Linked DNA regions of Homo sapiens: region 2 is linked to region 1. The links are contacts of gene promoters, found by promoter capture Hi-C in blood cells and fetal thymus (Javierre and others, 2016). All regions are on one chromosome and are shown on one strand. Each heading gives the region's core, a stretch centred on a gene start or on the middle of the fragment in contact. The rest is flanking DNA. Distances are from core to core; before and after follow the strand shown.

Evidence for each region. Contacts are between HindIII fragments. The CHiCAGO score rates a contact against its expected background, and 5 or more counts as called.
Region 2: a contact is called between a fragment that was not itself captured here and the fragment with the promoter of SEC23A in region 1, in 1 of 17 cell types (total CD8 T cells). The highest score is 5.2, in total CD8 T cells.

The regions. Positions count from the first base shown.
Region 1 is chr14:39,101,950-39,104,649 of GRCh38, reverse strand. SEC23A (SEC23 homolog A, COPII component) reads left to right here and starts at 1,415. Exons shown (of 20, transcript NM_006364.4): 1 at 1,415-1,618. It overlaps SEC23A-AS1 (SEC23A antisense RNA 1), which reads right to left and starts at 1,510. Exons shown (of 2, transcript NR_146545.1): 1 at 1,279-1,510; 2 at 838-1,105. RefSeq lists silencers at 1,200-1,429, 1,590-1,709, 1,730-1,809. The HindIII fragment of the contact is 19,881 bases long and covers 1-2,700 here.
Region 2 is chr14:39,206,395-39,209,094 of GRCh38, reverse strand. It overlaps the pseudogene LOC100313942. Among named protein-coding and RNA genes, the nearest start is that of MIA2, 26 kb to the left of the region's middle. The HindIII fragment of the contact is 223 bases long and covers 1,292-1,514 here.

The DNA of each region.
Region 1 (2,700 bases), core at 166-2,665:
CATTAAGGTAGCACCTTGAACCTACTTTATTTGGAAGCCTACACTAATTTTTGGCTTTCGATTCCCATTGCCCTCTTCAGGATTGTATTACAATTTGACAAGCAAACATCCTCTTCCACCTTCCAAAACAACTTTAGTACACACATTATAGAAAGGGAAATATGTTTGGTGCTTTTTTTTTTGAGACAGTCTCACTCTGTCACCCAGGCTGGAGTGCAATGGCGTGGTCTCGGCTCACTGCAACCTCCGCCTCCCGGGTTCAAGCAATTCTTCTGCCTCATCCTCCCGAGTAGCTGGGACTACAGGAGCGTGCCACCACACCCGGCTAATTTTTGTATTTTTAGTAGAGACGGTGTTTCACTATGTTGGCCAGGCTGGTCTCGAACTCCTTACCTTGTGATCCGCCTGCCTCCGCCTCCCAAAGTGTTGGGATTACAGGCGTGAGCCACCGCGCCCAGCCTGGTGCTGCTGTCTTATTTCTCATGAATATGAGCTTTCAAGGACAGGGACTTGATCTTTTTTTCCATTCCATAAAATGTTGATATGGCTAAACTTTGCAGGCTTTTAGGCGTTGTCATATATGCAATTAATTCCATGGGCACTTAATTTCATTCCCCTCACTGAAGGAAGGGGTTGTCTGAGACCACCAAGCTCTAATGTCTTACCAATCTGTTGCTTTCTCATTTTGTTCAACTTTTTTCTTGGAAAGAAAAACATTGAACATATCAAGATGAATCAGCCAAATATTGTACTGTGTGTGTGTTTTGGGGGTGGGGGGAGACAGAGTTGAAGTGGCAGAGGCAATGTAGGAGGAAAAGACAGGCTGACTAAAATACATAAATAGTACGTGAATTCTTTCGGGCCAGGGATCTGGGCCTACTTTGCCTGCATCATATTACCAGCATCTCAATTGTGTCTGGCACATAGTAAGTTTCAGTAAACATTTGTTGCACTAAGTGAAAGAATGAACTTTTCACTTTTTTCAGAGATGTGATTTGTGATTCTCGGAATCAACCAGGGTCCTAAGATGTCCTGGAGGCCGTCTCCATTTCTCTCGGTGAGCTAAGGTGTCCGAGTGGCACCAGTTCTCCACTCTTTCTGCGACCTGCAGGGAGTGGGATACGCTGTGGCTTTAGGGAGCTGGGAAAGGCGCTCTCTCCCGGTCCCGCTCTGCCCGGTCCCACGCCCCTCGGCCGTCCGGCTGCCTGGGTCTTCCGGGTTCTTCCGCCCCTCTGGCTCGGTCCCCGCTACCTCTCCTCCCTCCTCCCCTCTCGGTACCTTCGCCCGCCGCGCGCCTTTCTCAAATCCTCCGGTTATTAAGCAAGCTCAGGGGTCCGGTGGCCTGCCCTGGTAACTCTGCGCCCGCCCCTTCCTGCCCCCTTCCTGCCCTCACGCCCCGTCCCCTCCTCTTGACGTGGCAGAGGCGGCGCCAGCCATGTTGGCCGGGCGGAGGTCTTCGCTGAGGCCCGGGGCGGGGTGGCGCCACCCCTGATTGCGGTGCCACGGACTGCTCCTGCTGGGCGGAGAGGACAGATTTTGCAAAGCGGAGGCTGCGACGGGTCCTGCAGGGGGACAGTGAGGAAAGGGCCGCCTCGTCTCCGCTCCTGGGGGACCGCAGGTGCGCAGCGGGGAGCGGGGGCGGGCTGGCGGCGGCGGGCTGGGGGCTGGGATCCTGGGGTGGTCCCGGCTCTGCCCTCTCGGTGCCCCGGGGCCAGCGAGGTGTGCTGGAGGCTGAGGCCCGGTCCGGCGCGGGGAGCGTTGAGTGCTGAGCTTGCCACCCTCTCACCCACTTCGCTCTGCCGGGGCCGGGGGCCCGGCCTCCTCCAGCTCCCCTGGATTAGGTGGAAAGATGTGGAAAACGGTGGTTCGAGCATCTCGCCCAGCACCCACCCCCACCTCCTGGGCCACCCACCTCCACCCAAGTCCATCATCGCCTCTGGGCCCTTGGACTTACTGTTTCATTCCTTGCCAGATATGGAGTGTCCTAGACTTTGAACCCAATTGACTACGTCACCGTAATTCAGCCTTGGAAGTTAAAGGGGTTAAAGGGGAAAAGAGCTTGGTAAAGATAATGCCTTGGGTTTTGATTACAAAGAGTTCAGTTTTCCAGCAGGACCAGCCCTATCTCACTGGGCTTTCTTTCTACGGTAGGTAGTGTTTCCCGATTTGGTGGTAAAGGTACTGCCTGAGGAAGGTCATAGTAAATCTACATCAATCACTGAAGTGGGGATGTGGAATTCTCGTTTTCACTTGAACTCCCTCAACCTCTACCGTCCAAAGCCATGGATAACTAGCCAAATTAACTTGGTTTAAAAAGGTTTTAGATTTAAATATAAATGCATGTTGAGTTTTCCTTCTCTTTCTCCTCTGGTAGTGAATGAACATCATTTCAGAAGTCCAGCTATTTTTTTTTTTTCTGAGACGGAGTCTTGCTTTGTCGCCCAGGCTGGAGTGCAGTGGCGCAATCTCGGCTCACTGCAACCTCCGCCTCCCTGGTTCAAGCGATTCTCCTGCTTCAGCCTCCCGAGTAGCTGGGATTACAGGGGCGAGCTACTATGCCCGGCTAATTTTTGTATCTTTAGTAGAGACGGGGTTTCACCATGTTGGCCAGGCTGGTCTCGAACTCCTGACCTCAGGTGATCCGCCCGCCTCGGCCTCCCAAAGTGCTGGGATCACAGGCATGAGCCACTGCGCCCGGCC
Region 2 (2,700 bases), core at 154-2,653, 100 kb before region 1:
GATTTGTGATAGATACAATGATGTTCCCTTAAGCTGCCCAGCTAATAAAGGGATACCTAACAAAGAAGTTAATCTGTATTAGTCAGGTCCTACAGAGAAACAGCAACCAATGGGATGTGTGTATGTATGTGTGTGTCTACATATATCTATATGAAGAGACTTATTTTTAAAAAATGTGTTTGTGTCAATTGTGCCTCTAGGTATGAGAAGAGATTTGTTATAAGGAATTGGTTCATGTAATTATGGAGGCTAAGAAGTCCCAATATTCTCAAATCAGCAAGCTGGAGATTGGGGAGAGCCAATGTGTGTTTATTTGGGTGGCTAGGAGATGTGGTAGATAGAGTTTTTATTATAAGGAGGAAAGTCTTCTGAGACACCTTTTTGCACCCATATCTGATTGCTAGGACTTCCAGCACTATATTGAAGAGCAGTGGTGAGAGTGAGTATCCTTGTCTTGTTCCCGTTCTTAGAGGGAATACTTTAAACTTTTCCCCATTCAGTATTATGTTGGCTGTGGGTATGTCATAGATGGCTTCTATTACATTAAGGTATGCCCCTTGTATGCTGATTTTGCTGAGGGTTTTAATCATAAAGCGATGCTGGATTTTGTCAAATGCTTTTTCTGCGTGTATTGAGATGATCATGTGATTTGTTTTTAATTATGTTTATGTGATGTATCACATTTATTGACTTGCATATGTTAAACCATCCCTGCATCCCTGGTATGAAACTAACTTGATTATAGTGAATTATCTTTTTTATGCGCTGTTGGATTCTGTTAGCTAGTATTTTGTTAAGGATTTTAACATCTATGTTCATCAAGGTTATCAGTCTGTAGTTTTCTTTTTTGGTTTTGTCCTTTCCTGATTTTGGTATTAGGGTGATGCTGGCTTCATAGAATGAATTAGGGAAGGTTCCTTCTTTCTCTATCTTGTGGAATAGTGTCAAAAGGATTGGTACCAATTCTTTGAATGTCCGGTAGAATTCTGCTGTAAATCCATCTGGTCCTGTACTTTTTCTTTGTTGGTAATTATTAAATTAACATTTCAATCTTGCTGCTTGTTATTGGTCTGTTCAGGACATCTAATTCTTCCTGATTTAAGCTAGGAGGGTTGTACTTTTCCAGGAATTTATCCATCTCTTCTAGGTTTTCTAGTTTACGTGCATAAAGGTGTTCATAGTAGCTTTGAATGCTCTTTTGTATTTTAGTGGTGTCTGTTGAAATATCTGCTGTTTCATTTCTTAATGAGGTTATTTGGTGGATTTTCTCTCCTCTTTTCTTGGTTAAGCTTGTTAATGCTCTATCAATTTTATTTATCTTTTCAAATAACCAGCTTTTTGTTTCATTTAGCTTTTGTAATTTTTTTGTTTCAATTTCATTTAGTTCTGCTCTGATCTTGATCATTTCCTTTCTTCTGCTGGGTTTGGGTTTGGTTTGTTCTTGTTTCTCTAGTTTCTTGAGGTATGACCTTAGAATGTCAGTTTGTGCTTGTTCAGTCTTTTTGATGTAAGCTTTTAGGCTATGAACTTTCCTCTTAGCACTGCCTTTGCTGTATCCCAGAGGTTTTGATAGGTTGTATCATTATTGTCGTTTAGTTTGAAGAATTTTTAAATTTCCATCTTGATTTCATTTTTGACCCAGTGCTCATTCACGAGCAGGTTATTTAATTTCCATGTATTTGCATGGTTTTGAAGGTTCCTTTTAGAGATGATTTCCAGTTCTATTTCACTGTGGTCTGAAAGAGTACTTGATATAATTTCAATTTCTTAAATTTATTGAGACTCATTTTGTGGCCTATCATATGGCCTATCTTGGAGAAAGTTCCATGCGCTGTTGAATAGAACGTGTATTCTGTGATTGTTGGATGAAATGTTCTGTATATATCTGTTAAGTCCATTTGTTCCAAGGTATAGTTTAAATCCATTGTTTCTTTGTTGACTTTCTGTCTTGACCTGTCTAGTGCTGTCAGTGGAGTACTGAAGTCCCCCACTATTATTGTGTTGCTGTCTATCTCATTTCTTAGGTCTATTAATAATTGTTTTATAAATTTGGGAGCTCCAATGTTAGGTGCATATATGTTTAGGATTGTGATATTTTCCTGTTGGACAAGGCCTTTTACCATTATATAATGTCCCTCTTTGTCTCTTTTAACTGCTGTTGCTTTAAAGTTTGTTTTATCTGATATAAGAATAGCTACCTCTGCTTGCTTTGGGCGTCCACTTGCAAGAAATCTCTTTTTCCATCCCTTTACTCTAAGTTTATGTGAGTCCTTATGTGTTAGGTGAGTCTACTAAAGGCAGCAGATAGTTGGTTGGTGAGTTCTCATCCATTCTGCAGTTCTGTATCTTTTAAGTGGAGCATTTAGGCCATTTACATTCAATGTTAATATTGAAATGTGAGGTACCATTGCATTCATTGTGCTATTTGTTGCCTGTGTACCTTGGGTTTTTTGGTTTTGGTTTTTGCTTTTTAACTTGTATTTTTGTTTTATAGGTCCTGTGTGATTTATGCTTTAAAGAGGTTCTGTTTTGATGTGTTTCCAGGATTTAAGATTTTTTTTTTTTGAGACAGAGTTTCAATCTGTCTCCCAGACTGGAGTGCAATGGCACAATCTTGGCTCACTGCAACTTCTGCCTCCCAGGTTCAGGTGGTTCTCCTGCCTCAGCCTCCCAAGTAGCTGGGATTACAGGGGCCCACCA